Regions from separate parts of the Homo sapiens genome. Here regions 1, 2, 3 and 5 are each linked to region 4. The links are contacts of gene promoters, found by promoter capture Hi-C in human tissues and cell types (Jung and others, 2019). All regions are on one chromosome and are shown on one strand. The core of a region is centred on a gene start or on the middle of the fragment in contact, and the rest is flanking DNA. Distances in the headings are between cores, read along the strand shown. Region 1 overlaps ZNF609 (zinc finger protein 609). Region 2 overlaps ZNF609 (zinc finger protein 609). Region 3 overlaps CSNK1G1 (casein kinase 1 gamma 1). Region 4 holds the start of TRIP4 (thyroid hormone receptor interactor 4). Region 5 overlaps CSNK1G1 (casein kinase 1 gamma 1).

The links. Contacts are between HindIII fragments. The study calls those that stand out against the background at their distance.
Region 1: a contact is called between a fragment that was not itself captured here and the fragment with the promoter of TRIP4 in region 4, in 3 of the 25 tissues and cell types used here (dorsolateral prefrontal cortex, liver and small bowel).
Region 2: a contact is called between a fragment that was not itself captured here and the fragment with the promoter of TRIP4 in region 4, in 1 of the 25 tissues and cell types used here (spleen).
Region 3: a fragment that was not itself captured here is called in contact with the fragment with the promoter of TRIP4 in region 4 in 1 of the 25 tissues and cell types used here (mesenchymal stem cells).
Region 5: a contact is called between a fragment that was not itself captured here and the fragment with the promoter of TRIP4 in region 4, in 1 of the 25 tissues and cell types used here (mesendoderm cells).

Annotation. Positions count from the first base shown.
Region 1 is chr15:64,622,361-64,625,060 of GRCh38, reverse strand. It overlaps ZNF609 (zinc finger protein 609), which reads right to left. Exons shown (of 10, transcript NM_015042.2): 3 at 2,009-2,234. All of the region lies in intron 3 of LOC101930091 (a long non-coding RNA gene), which reads left to right. Among named protein-coding and RNA genes, the nearest start is that of OAZ2, 80 kb to the left of the region's middle. RefSeq lists an enhancer at 2,333-2,412. The HindIII fragment of the contact is 8,404 bases long and covers 1-2,700 here.
Region 2 is chr15:64,574,451-64,577,150 of GRCh38, reverse strand. All of the region lies in intron 2 of ZNF609 (zinc finger protein 609), which reads right to left. The region is part of intron 4 of LOC101930091 (a long non-coding RNA gene); the gene reads left to right. Among named protein-coding and RNA genes, the nearest start is that of ZNF609, 120 kb to the right of the region's middle. The HindIII fragment of the contact is 4,551 bases long and covers 1-2,700 here.
Region 3 is chr15:64,220,493-64,223,192 of GRCh38, reverse strand. All of the region lies in intron 4 of CSNK1G1 (casein kinase 1 gamma 1), which reads left to right. Among named protein-coding and RNA genes, the nearest start is that of PPIB, 59 kb to the right of the region's middle. The HindIII fragment of the contact is 8,374 bases long and covers 1-2,700 here.
Region 4 is chr15:64,386,477-64,389,176 of GRCh38, reverse strand. It overlaps TRIP4 (thyroid hormone receptor interactor 4), which reads right to left and starts at 1,341. Exons shown (of 13, transcript NM_016213.5): 1 at 1,213-1,341. The coding sequence starts at 1,313. It also overlaps a transcript of PCLAF not described here. RefSeq lists enhancers at 625-1,125, 1,055-1,544, 1,126-1,626. The HindIII fragment of the contact is 11,205 bases long and covers 1-2,700 here.
Region 5 is chr15:64,238,335-64,241,034 of GRCh38, reverse strand. All of the region lies in intron 4 of CSNK1G1 (casein kinase 1 gamma 1), which reads left to right. Among named protein-coding and RNA genes, the nearest start is that of PPIB, 77 kb to the right of the region's middle. The HindIII fragment of the contact is 3,318 bases long and covers 1-2,700 here.

The sequences.
Region 1 (2,700 bases), core at 184-2,683, 240 kb before region 4:
CTGGGCTGGGTGTGGTAGCTCACACCTGTAATCCCAGCACTTTGGGAGGTTGAGGCAGGTGGATCACAAGGTCAGGAGTTCAAGACCAGCGTGGCCAGCACGGTGAAACCCCATCTCTACTAAAAATACAAAAATGGACCAGGCGTGGTGGTATGTGCCTGTAGTCCCCACTACTCAGGAGGCTGAGAGAGAAGAATCGCTTGAACCTGGGAGGCAGAGGTTGCAGTGAGCCAAGATCGCACCACTGTACTCCAGCCTGGGTGACAGGGTGAGACTCCATCTCAAAAAAAAAAAAAAAAGTGTACGTAACAGGGGAACTTGGTAATAATAGGCTGCCTGTGACAACCTGACAGAGAGTCTTCCAGTGCAAACGATTTACAAAAAATAAAAAAAAATTATGTGTTAATTTTGCCCTGGCAGGAAGGGATCCTCAGATAAAAAGGTATTCATTGTCCTCAGGAGAGTGAAAGCATTAGCCTCACTCTCTCAAAGTTTTTGTTAGGTTCACATAAAAAAAGCATCTTGTTCTTGGAAAAGAGTCACCATCATAAAGGCAAGCAGAACAAACAGGCAGGAAATCGATTTATTCTATCTTCAATATACTGAGGTAAGAGGCCTTGAAGGTTGCTTGGTGGCACAGAGATATGGTCCGGATATGTCTGTCATTCCAACAGACTCTGTGACTGTTCAGACATTTGTCCATAAGCAGATGACATTTTAAAAATCAGATAGCCACTTTGTGATTTTCAGATTGTATATTGTATACACATATCCAGAGTCAACCTCTAGAGTTAAACTCTCTCTCTACCTTCTCTGCATCAGCTTCTACCACTCAGGCACACAATAAAACCTCATTAGCGACGTTATTCTGAAAGCTGAAGATGTATTACATTCCTAATGATGACACAGACAAGAATACAGAGTTCTTAACCTGTAACACATCAGCACCTATTGCACGGTAAACTTTAAATAAATACTGAATGACAACAAAATATTCAGGGGAACAGATTTTATTAGAATGACCAGAATGAAATGCCTGAATTTCTAGGGGCAGACTGACAAAATAGCTCTGTGATAATCAGAGATGATTAGCTGTGCTCCTCTGGGCCTCTAAACTCCTCAGAGTGAGGACAGTTTGAAAGTCTGTTTACTGATGCAGAGACATGATGGGACTGAGGCCCAGACTCTCTAACCACATATACTCTGACAAGGATTTGGATTCTTCAGAAAAAGAATATGCAAAAATCAAATTGCCACCAGATGTTACCAAAAGATCTGAAATACCCCATTAAGTCTCTTTACACTTCCTTCCATTTTTTCAGGTTCATAAATTTTCAAAACAGAATAGATTCCGTTCTCAGGGGCAAGTGGAACATGCAAGAAGTCTGGATGCCTTGGGCAACAGCAACCTACAGTGAGCCAACTGCTTAGTGGATGCCTGAAAACAAGACCATCTAAACATTTCCTATAAAATCTGTACCAAGTGACAGATACATGAAGCGGTGTGGGTGGCTGGGCAATGAGGCAATCAGTGGGAAGAGTGAACTGGCTGTACCTATAGGTGTTAAAAAAGGCAAGAGCTGCATATGCAATGAGCCAACATTAAGTGAATTTAAGAGTGACTATTCTCCATCCTCTTGACTCCCTCAGCTGCCCTTTTATTAATTTTTCTCTTCAGGCCTGACCTCAAATTTAATTTATAATCTAACTCTCCCATATAAAATATGGAGAGTACAGATACAGTTTGAATTACCTGGCCAATACCTATCACATGACTGCATATCATAAGTACCAGGATCAACACTGTTGAATACTATGAAGGGAAGAATCTCTAGAAGCTGGGAAATTTTGCTAAGTCTGCTAAAATCCTCTGTGTGGGTATCTCCCGCAGACTGTGGACACTTGAGACTCTAATAACCACTTGGTAATATTTACAACAATAAGTCCCTGGTGGCTCCCCTGCAGAAGCAGGTTGAGAAGGGAGGGGAAAGCCACATATCACACTTACCATCTTCTGTTTCCTGCCACACGATGCCTTCAAGGTTGACGCTAGTTCCAGGTTCACAGGGGCCCAAGCACTCAGGCTCTGTGGCCAGAGCCACATCACATGTGTTGACCCCAACTGATCGGGTACGAACCATGATCTGCTCACAGGGAGATGAGATGTCATTGTTGACCACTGGCACCAAAAGGTGTATTGGCAGCACTGCTGGTGTGGAAACAGGGGACTCCATCTGTGGAGGGAAGAAAAAGTAGTAGCTGAGTTGCAGGGAGAACATTTAGAGGAAATACCTTTTCTGTATTTAATCTAGTCCTATATCTATTCCTGCCAGAGTGCAGACGGCTATAAATAAGACTTTGGTTCTTCCTTTCAAGTTCTGGCTTATGATACCACTACAAATCTAGTGGTTTAGATGAGAACATCCTGTGCTAAGAGAAACTCTTATTAATGAGCGTATAATGATCTTCTTAATGATCTTCCTCATAAACTGCACTTGGCTAAAATGTTTTTTAAAAAGTTCTATTTTTTCCTCATCTCATTAAAAAGTCTCTAATGAAAGAGAATCAGGGCCAGATTTCAATAGTAACAGAGCACACAGACTGATGAGAAAGACAAGGCCCAGCATCTGAGGTATGTTTTGCTACCACCACTATGCTTCCTACCAATCTATCATTCAGCAAACAGTACATTAGTCTGGC
Region 2 (2,700 bases), core at 53-2,552, 190 kb before region 4:
TATGTATATATTTGTGTGTATATATACACATATATGTATATATTTGTGTGTATATATACATATATGTATATATTTGTGTATATATACATATATGTATATATTTATGTGTATATATACATATATATATTTATGTGTATACATACATATATATATTTATGTGTATACATACATATATATATTTATGTGTATATATACATATATGTATATATTTATATGTATATATACACATATATGTATATATACATATATATGTATATATTTATATGTGTATATATATGATTCTTAAAATGGGCCTTCAGTTCATTCTTTTTTTTTTTTTTTTTTTTTTGAGATGGAGTCTCGCTCTGTCTCCCAGGCTGGAGTGCAGTAGCATGATCTCAGCTCACTGCAACCTCCACCTCCCAGGCTGGTCTCGAACTCCTGACCTCGAGTGATCCATTCGCTTCAGTCTCCCAAAGTGCTGGGATTACAGGCTTGAGCCACCACGCCTGGCTCCATCCACTATTTTGAGGATTCCTTTAACCTTTCTTGTTTATTGAATTTCATCTTTCCTCTATCACATCTTCCTTTTCGTAGAAACATCCAGTAGCTTTCTAGAATAGGGCATGGAAGTTAGATTTTTTAAAGATATTGCAAGTTTATTTTAGCCCCCATTCTGGGATATAATTTATAGCAGTGACGTGTGTTGACTTTTTTTTTTTCTAGAACAAAATTCTGATAAAAAATTCTGAATTGACATCATAACTAAGAAGCACATGACTAGAGAAATCTGTATCAGAATTTATAATATATTTAAGCTAGCCTAAAGTCAGTATTAATGTTTAAAGAAAGCCTCATGAAACTGGCAGCAAGTAGACACTGAATAAAAGATTATTATTAATAACAACAACCACATTTATACCTGTAAGTTATAATATAAACTAAGTAGATAAATTTGACCTAAAAGAAGGCAAACCAGGGGTTTTGGTTTCTCAAGGTGCCTAATCCTGATTAGCCCCCATTTTTATTAATTTTTCAAGTATATCAAGTAATTATTATTATTATTATTTGAGACTGAGTCTCGCTCTGTCGCCCAGGCTGGAGTGCAGCGGCGCGATCTCGGCTCACTGCAAGCTCCGCCTCCCAGGTTCGTGCCATTCTCCTGCCTCAGCCTCCCAAGTAGCTGGGACTACAGGTGCCCGCCACCGCGCCTGACTAATTTTTTGTATTTTTAGAAGAGACGGGGTTTCACTGCGTTAGCCAGGATGGTCTTGATTTCCTGACCCCGTGATCCACCTGCCTCGGCCTCCCAAAGTGCTGGGATTACAGGCGTGAGCCACCTTGCCCGGCCAAGTATATCAAGTAATTATTTATATTTTCTCAGATAAAACCAGCTTGCTTGGTTAGAATGTAGATTAAGTTCCAAATTTTGGCAAAATTCAAGTGGCTATCTTTAAGTTTACCTTGCTTAAATTTCATAACCTTTTTGTAAATATACAAATACTACCTGGGATCCCATTAATTTATATAATTAATAGTACACAAAACCAAAACCATGAATAAGAAAAGAGAATTCGGTATTAAGAGAAAATAAATACGTTGACCTCCCTAAGAAAACAGAAGTTCCTCCATGGTTGTTATTCCCATCCTGTGTCCAAAAGATTATTATTGCCAGAAATTCTGTATGTGCAAAAAAATCCTACTGATTATAGATAACCTCTGGTTTTCCCCTCTTCTTCCTTTTTTTTTTTTGAAATGGAGTTCTTGTTGCCCAGGCTGGAGTGCAATGGTGCGATCTAGGCTCACTGCAACCTCCGCCTCCCAGGTTCAAGTGATTTTCCTGCCTCAGCCTCCTGAGTAGCTGGGAATACAGGCATGTGCCACCACACCCAGATAATTTTGTATTTTTAGTAGAGACGGGGTTTCTCCATGTTGGTTAGGCTGGTCTTGAACTCCAGATGTCAGGTAATCCACCCGCCTCAGCCATATCCAGATTCTTGTCTTCCACAGAAACCCCGGGATTTGGTTTTGACTCTTTCACACTTTGAGGCTGTTTCCTTCTTGTTCTTAGTTAAAAATGAAAAGCACTTTCCACATCACCAACAAAAGCAATTCAGCAGGATTCATTTCTATATACTGTGCTGCCACATACAAGCCCCATTAATGAACAGCATAAGGGACTAGGGCATGGCTTGGTAAAATGAATAGTGCTTCAGGAGGAGTCCAACTCTGCAAGCTGCTGCTTTTAGAAAAATGCATTTAACTACAGCCACAGGTCCCTCCCTCCTCTTGCTTCAAAATCAGATGTTCACCCATCCCTAGCAGTAAGATAAAGACCTTAGAAAGAGAGTTCTGACAGCAAACCACAGAGGCTGCAGACACATTTCGTTTTAATTCCATCAGCAACTGCTAAGCAATTAATGAAATAGAGAGGAGGGAGGGGGCATCAGGGCAAAGAGAAAAGGGACTTGAGCAATCATGTGGAAATACTTCATCCTCATCCCAATGAGAGCAGGTTATCTGGGGCAGCTGTACAAAGCTTCAAATCCTTGAATTTGAACTCCCAGGCCACTTCCCAAGCAGCAATAAAGATATGTAGTCCAGATTTTGTCTTGCTTACAGTTTTATATCTCTCATATACTTGCCTGTAGCCACCAACAAAGGGAAGAAAGAGTGAAAGACAACAGATCAAGTGAGTGATTCAGCTATTAAGTCCCTTGG
Region 3 (2,700 bases), core at 17-2,516, 170 kb after region 4:
TCTCTGACCAAAGAGACAGACTTTCTTAGTGTGCTTGTGTTTGTGTCTTTTACCACCAGCACAGACCACTTTATGGGCACTCCTGCGAAAAACCAGGCTCAGAGTAGAACTTGCATGGGGAGCTTTCTGTACAGATAGTTCTAATAAATTACAGCTACATCTCCCAAAGAAACTTTTATGCTCAAAGGTATATTTTCTGTAAGAAAATAACTAAGAAACTTTAAACAGAGAAATCTTTTTAACTTGCCTTAAAATTCTTTCCTTCAAAAGGTATTGAGTCCAGTTGTTTTGATCTGAAATAACTTCTGAAAGAGACCTGTCACTGTATTCTGAATCCTTATATTAATCATAAAACAAAGCAAAACCCTTTATTTCTACTCTCTAGATATAGTGTTTTTCAGCTGAGGTTACACATCAGAATCACTTGTGGAGCAATGTTTGCTTCCACTCCTAGAAATTCTGACTCAGTAGGTAGGAGGTGAAGTCACTGCATCTCATTTTGGGTTTTTTTTTTTTTTTAAGTTTTAAAGATATTTCTGATAGATACACTTCCAGTTGAGTTTCACTACCAGCTTATATTTGAATTGGTGCCACACGTTATTTCATAAAATATGGAGGTGAGTTTCATTCATAGTTCTGTGGCTTTACAAAGAGGAACCCAGAAGGTAGCTAGAAGGAAATCCTGGCCATAAGAATTTGGATTTTGAAAGGAACCAGTCTAAACCCCCTCCTCTTTTTTTTTTTTTTTTTTTTTTGGTGGTGTTGTTGTTGTTATTTCTTTATTTCTTCTAAGGAGAAAAAAAACGGGATACATGTGCAGAATGTGCAGGTTTGTTACGTAGGTACATGTGTGCCATGGTGGTGTGCTACACCTATTGACCCGTCTTCTAAGTTCCCTCCCCCGACCCCCCATCCACCAACAGGCCCTGGTGTGTGTTGTTCCCCTCTCTGTGTCCATGTGTTCTCAATGTTCAACTCCCACTTATGAGTGAGAACATGTGGTGTTTGGTTTTCTGTTCCTGTGTTAGTTTGCTGAGGATGATGGCTTCCAGCTTCATTCATGTCCCTGCAAAGGACATGATCTTGTTCCTTTTTATGGCTGCATAGTATTCCATGGTGTGTATGTACCATATTTTCTTTATCCAGTCTATCATTGATGGGCATTTGGGTTGGTTCCATGTCTTTGCTATTGTAAATAGTGCTGCAGTAAACATACATGTGCATGTGTCTTTATAGTAGAATGATTTATATTCCTTTGGGTATATACTCAGTAATGGGATTGCTGGGTCAAGTGGTATTTCTGGTTCTATATCCTTAAGGAATCACCATACTGTCTTCCACAATGGTTGAACTAATTTACATTCCTACCAACAGTGTAAAAGTGTTCCTATTTCTCCATAGCCTCTCCAGCATCTGTTGTTTCCTGACTTTTTAATAATCACCATTCTGACTGGCGTGAGATGGTATCTCATTGTGTAAACCCCCTCCTCTTTACAGATGAATAAGCTAACCCAGAGAGGCTAAGGAATGTGCCAGAGTTGAAAGCAGAAGCAAATACTAGATCTAAGACTCTGACTTGAGCTTTTTCTACACTGGTATCTCGGACCTTGACCCTCTCCTAGAAATGCTTCAAAACCACTCAGTGGTCTAGAAGTTGCTTTGAGCATCCCAAAGCCTGCCAGTGTGTTGTGAGGTCTCAGGGTACTTAATAAAACCAATAATGCAGCGAGCAGGAACTCTTAATTCTTCCAAGTTCCTAGGTAGGAGTAATGGGTGACATTATAGTTAGAAATTGTAGATATTACTCAAAATCCTTTTGTGACTTCATTGTAAACATGGAAACTTCTGGCAAAAGATAATCTAGATTTGATACTAAGGATTATTAAGAACAAGATCAGTTGTCTCATTTAAACTGAACCTTAAGTATTGGCAACAAGTGTAGGAAATTATGCCAATATTATATTTCTAAGCAAGCCTGACTTTTAGCTTGTACTTTAGAAAGAGGATATTATGCCCAGATTTGCAATTTAACCAACGAATGGAGTAATATGTTTATTAATTAGGATTAGAGTTGGCTGCTTTTTAAAAATCCAAATACAAGTAGCTCAGTCAAGGTGGAGATTGATTTTTCTTTTTGATAAAAAAAATCCAGAGAGAAGAAAAGTCCAACATTAGCATGGTTACTCCACAGCCATCAGGGACTTAGGTTCTGTTTTTTGCTCCATCTATTCTTGGCACTACTTTACATCGTCAAGATGTCTGGTGATTCTAGATGGCTTCTGGACCTTTCATTCTAGCCATCTCTCTTGAAAGAATTTTTTTAGAATTATACACTCAGTGGCCAGGCACGGAGGCTCATGCCTGTAATCCCAGCACTTTGGGAGGCCAAGGCAGGCAGATCACTTGAGGCCAGGAGTTTGAGACCAGCCTGGCCAACATGGTGAAATCTCATCTCTACCAAAAACAAACAAAAAAAAAATTAGCCATAGTCTGTAGTCCCAGCTACTCAGGAGGCTGAGGCAAGAGTAAAACTAAAAACAAAATTAGCTGAGTCTGTAGTCCCAGCTACTCAGGAGGCTGAGGCAAGAGAAAAGCTTGAACCCAGGAGGCGGAGGTTGCACTGATCTAAGATCATGCAACTGCACTCCAGCCTGGGCAGCAGAGCAAGACTCTGAATAAAAAAAAAAAAAAGAGTTATAC
Region 4 (2,700 bases), core at 92-2,591:
GTCCCATTTTTGTAGTTTTCTCCCCTGCCTGAACACTTTGGACCGCCACCTCTGTCTATTCCTTAGTTCTCGGGTGAAAGTTATCCTTTCCAATAAACCTTCCGAGTTTTTCAAATCTTAATGAGAATCCTTTATTTTGTGCTCCAACAAGCCCCTTCATTTCCCCAACCTCAGCACTCATCAACGAAGGGGAACCCAACTGTCTTGTCTTTGTTACCCCAGCACCTGGCGTGTAACAGCAGCGCAACAAATGTTCTTCAATCAGTTGAAAGTAGATATTAAGTCATGTACACCATCTCCATTTCATAGGAGTCATAAAGCATGATAAGCTCTACTAATGATTAATCTTATAAATGAAGAAACCAGGGTACAGAGAGAAAAATTAAGTTGTCCTGGGTTCTAAAACAGGTAAACGACAACAGAATATAGAACCTGAGACTCCAGAGTCAGAAGCTATTTGTACTCTACCACGCTGCTTCCACTTAAATTCTAGGTCCTATTGACACAGCTGACCCTGTTGGCTCTACTGACACAACTCAGATTGGGCCGACTAAAATGTTCAGAGTATATCTGGGTGCGGTGGCTCATGCCTGTAATCCCAGCACTTTGGGAGGTCGAGGCGGGCGGATCACTTGAGATCAGGAGCTGGAGACTAGCCTGGCCAACATGGTGAAACACTGACTCTACTAAAAATTTTTAAAAATTAGCCGGGTGTGGTGGTGCGTGCCTGTAATCCCAGCTACTTGGGAGGCTCAGGCAGGTGAATCACCTGAACCCGGAAGGCGGAGGTTGCAGTGAGCCAAGATCGCGCCACCGCACGCCAGCCTGGGCGACAGAGACTCCGTCTCAATAATAACAACAATAATAATAAATAAATAAAAGAGTAAGGGGTTCAAAGTTAGGAAATACAGTTTGACCTGCCCCTTCTCTCTAGAAAGGAAACTGGCTCCTGGGACAGCCTTGCATTTCTAATTATTACAGATTGGGCGTCTTCCCAGGAAAAAAGCCCGACCGGCAGACTGTGGAGCCGGACACCCTATTCCAGAAACTAAACTACAAAGGTGGAGGCCAAAATTCGACGCCTACAGACTACAGACTGCAGCCCCTTTATCACATTTCTCTCTTAACTTTTCAGTCCTCCCCGCTTCCCGGTTCGCTCAGGCAGTGCACATCCCAGAGCTCCTTCCCCGCTTGGACCCGAACTGTTCTCACTGAATGATCTCCTCGCTGACATCCAGGCCGAAAGTCTTCCGCAACTGCTGGGTGCACCAGTGCACCAGCGGCTCCCCGGACACCGCCCCAGCCACCGCCATCTTCCCCAGCCGGAACCAGCTGAGCTGCAAAAGCCCCACGTCCTGCACCGGACTAGTTCCCTTCGCAACACCAACCTCTCTCACGCGGGTTCCGCCAGCTTGCACCGCCCCGCAAGGTCGCACCGCCTCCAGTGCAGATCCCGCCCATCTGTGCGCCTCCTGCTTCTTCCTGCTTTGTTGTCTACTTCCTTGTGCCCTCCGGAGTCGAGCTCTGTCAGTGCATGATTCTTGCCAATCGCTAAACGTAGGACTCGAGGAAGGCCATTGGCAATTCTGCTAAGAAGACAGTGCAAGTGCCTATAAAAACGACAGTTTAGGGGGAAAACAAACCAATACCCGGAAAGCTGAGAGGCCAGCTTTTTAATCGTCATGGTTTTATGTAAAATAAAACAGCACGTGGAAGGTATTGTAAGCGCTGTAAGTTTTTGCTCTGGTGGTGGTTTTAATTTTTTAATTAATTAATTAATTTATTTATTTATTTTGAGACGGAGTCTCGCACTGTCGCCCAGGCTTGAGTGCAGTGGCATGATCTCGGCTCACTGCAAGCTCCGCCTCCCGGGTTCATGCCATTCTCCTGCCTCAGCCTCCCAAGTAGCTGGGACTACAGGCACCCGCCACCACGCCCGGCTAATTTTTTTTGTATTTTTAGTAGCGACGCGGTTTCACGTGTTAACCGGGATGGAGTGTTTATTTTTAATACCCCCTGTAGTCGACTACTAGATTCACACCGCTAAAACTTCTATTTTATTTTTTGAGCCATGTATTTTCCAGGAGAGCCAAGACAACTCAGCAAGCTCGAGGGTAAAAAACAGTAAAACAGGAGTTGGAATTTGGCTTTGAGGACTTTCCACATGAGTTCTCAACCAAAAATGACAGTATTTAAGGGCTGTCTGCAATTCCCTACCCCGCTAAGACAATGGGCTGGGGAAAATTTAGCCAAACTTTTCTGGAGATCATAATGTCTTCCCATTCATTTCTGGCTTTTTGTTGCATTTGCAGGTTAAAAGTTCTTCATTTCTACTAGCCTGTTTAGACTAAGTGGTCACATTAAATTGGCAGCTGTTTTACCTTTTTGCTAGTGTTTTCATTGGCATAAATATTATAATTAAAATCATGAGTGTATTGGCCGGGCGCAGTGTCTCATGCCTGTAATCCCAGCGCTTTGGGAGGCCGAGGCGGGAGGATCACCCGAGCGCACACGGAGACACACACACAAACACACACACACACACACACACACACACTGGGCGTGGTGGCTCATGCCTGTAATGCCAGCACTTTGGGAATCAGAGGCAAGAGGATCACTTGAGCCCAGGAGTTCCGGACCAGTCTGGGCAGCATAAGGAGAATCCTCATCTCTACAAAAATGAAAAAAATTAGCCTGGCA
Region 5 (2,700 bases), core at 63-2,562, 150 kb after region 4:
CAAGGCTATTTTTCACAGGTGAGGAATTACTCCTCTCATTTTGTTAATCTTTTTCTGGTTGCTTTATATATTCTTTATTCCTCTCTTACTGTTAATCATCGCAACTTGGTGGTTTTCTGTAGTGATACGGTTTGATTCTTTTTCTTTTTCTCTTTCTCCTTTGTGTATCTGCTTTATCAGTGAGTTTTATAGATTTACGTATTTTTATGATGGTAATTATCATCTTTTGACCTCCAGATGCAGGATTCTCTTGAGCATTTCTTGTAAGTCCAGTCTAGTAGTGACAGATTCCTTCAGTTTTTGCTTGTCTGGGAAAGACTTTATTGCTCTCTCATTTCTGAAGGATAGCTTTGCTATATGTAGTATTTTTGGCTGAGAGTTTTTTTTTTCTTTCCATTACTTTGCACATATCATTTCATTCTCTCCTGGCCTGTAAGGTTTCCACTGAGAAATCTGCTGTTACTCCCTTATAATTTTCTTGACTCTTTTTTCTTGCTGTTTTTAGAGTACTCTCTTTGTGTTTGACTTTTCACAATTTAGGACTGTAATATAAAGTGGACCTTTTTGGGTTAAATATATTTGGGAACCTTTGAGCTCCCTGGACCTGGATGTTCATATCTCTCCTTAGACATGAAAAATTTTCAGTTGTTATTTCATTAAATAGGTTTTCTATGCCTTTTTTCATCTCTTCTTCTAGAAATCATATAATATGCATGTTTGTTCACTTAATGGTGTCCCATAAGTCTTGTAAGCTTTCTTCACTCTTTTTCATTATTTTTGTTTTGTTTTGTTTAGTTTGTTGAGACGGAGTCTTACTCTGTCACCCAGGTTGGGGTGCAGTGGCACAATCTTAGCTCACTGCAGTCTCTGCCTCCGGGGTTCCAGCTATTCTCCTGCCTCAGCCTCCCGCGTAGCTGGGATTACAGGCATACACCACTATGCCTGGCTAATTTTTGTATGTTTAGTAGAGACAAGGTTTTACCATGTTAGCCAGGCTGGTCTTGAACTCCTGACCTCAAGTGATCCACCCGCCTCAGCCTCCCAGAGTGCTAGGATTACAGGCATGAAACATTGCTCCCGCCTTATTTTGTTTTGTTCTGTTAACTGAGTAGTTTCAAATGACCTCTCATCAAGCTCAGAGACTTTCTTCTGCTTACGTCTGCTGTTGAATTTCTGTTGTACTTTTTATTTAATTCATTGAATTCTTCATCTGTGGGAAATCTGTTTGGTTCTTTTCTATATCTATCTCTTAGTTGAATTTCTAGTTTATATCATGAATTATTTGTCTGGTTTTGTTGACTTACTTGTCTGTATTTTCTGGTATCTCATTAAGTTTCCTTAAGATTATTATTTTAGGTCAGGCATGGGTGACTTACACCTGTAATCCCATCACTTTTGGAGGCCAAGGCAAGTGGATCGATGGAGCTCAGGAGTTTGAGATCAGCCTAGGGAACATAGCAAGACCCCATCTCTATGAAAAAGACAAAAATAATTAGCCAGGTGTGGTGGTACGCACCTATAGTCCCAGCTACTTGTGGGGCTGAGGCAGGAGGATTGCTTGAGCCCAGGAAGTTGAGGTTGCAGTGAGCCATGTTTGTGCCACTGCACTCCAGCCTGAGTGACAGAGTGAGATCCTGTCTCAAAACAAAAACAAAAACAAAGAAAAAAAACATACAACAACAACAACAAAAGATCATTATTTGGAGTTCCTTTTCCAGCAGTTTTAAAATTTCTTTTCATTGGGGTCTATTACTAAAGAGTTATGCTTCTTTGGTGGTGTCATATTTTCTTGCTTTTTCATGTTTCTGTACCACTGTGTTGATGTTTGTGCATCTAATGGAACTGTTGACTCTCTTAAACTTTCTAGAGTGGCTTTGATAGACAAAGACTTTCACCTGCAGTTGGGTCTTAGTGTGCCGGTTGGGAAGAGTGTGATGAATCTGTGTGCAGGTAGGTTTAGTGATACAGCCTCTGTGCAACTTCTTTGGCTACATTAAACATCAGGAATAAATGTGGATGCCTTAGTGGCCTAGGGTATAGAGTTTTTTGGTAGTGATGGCAGAAGGTTGTTAATATCCTTGTTGGAAAAGACTTTTGGGTCCTCCTGTTCTCATTTTCCCCACAATGGGGAGACTCTTGGTATCTGACATAGCCTACAAGCAGCCGTGAGACTAGGATCCTAGGCTCAGGGTCTTGAGGTACCTTTAGCAGCCCAGATCCAGGGGGTTGGGTTCCAGCTGTGAATCTCTATCCCTGGGGGGGCATGGCACAGCCCTGGCCCAACTCCAGGGAAAAAATGGGTGCTCTGGAGGTTTGAATTCAGAATACACGCCATAGCTGTAATTCAGGAGCCCAAGTCAGTAGGGCTCAGTCTAATAGGCACTTTATGTGGTTGTTTCTTTTTTTCCCATTTTTGAGCACAGGAACTTCAGTAACTTACCTAAAGTCACACAGTAAGCAAACCTGCACTAGGAATGTGGGTTTTTTTTCATATATATATATATATATATATATATTTTTTTTTTTTTTTTTTTTTTTTTAAGGGACAGGGTCTTGCTCTGTCACCCAGGCTGGAGTGTAGTGGCGTGATCATAGCTTACTGCAGCCTCAAACTCCTGGGCTCAAGAGATCCTCTCACTTCAGCCTCCCAAGTAGAGTAGCTGGGAATACAGGTGCACACTACCATGCCTGGCTAATTTT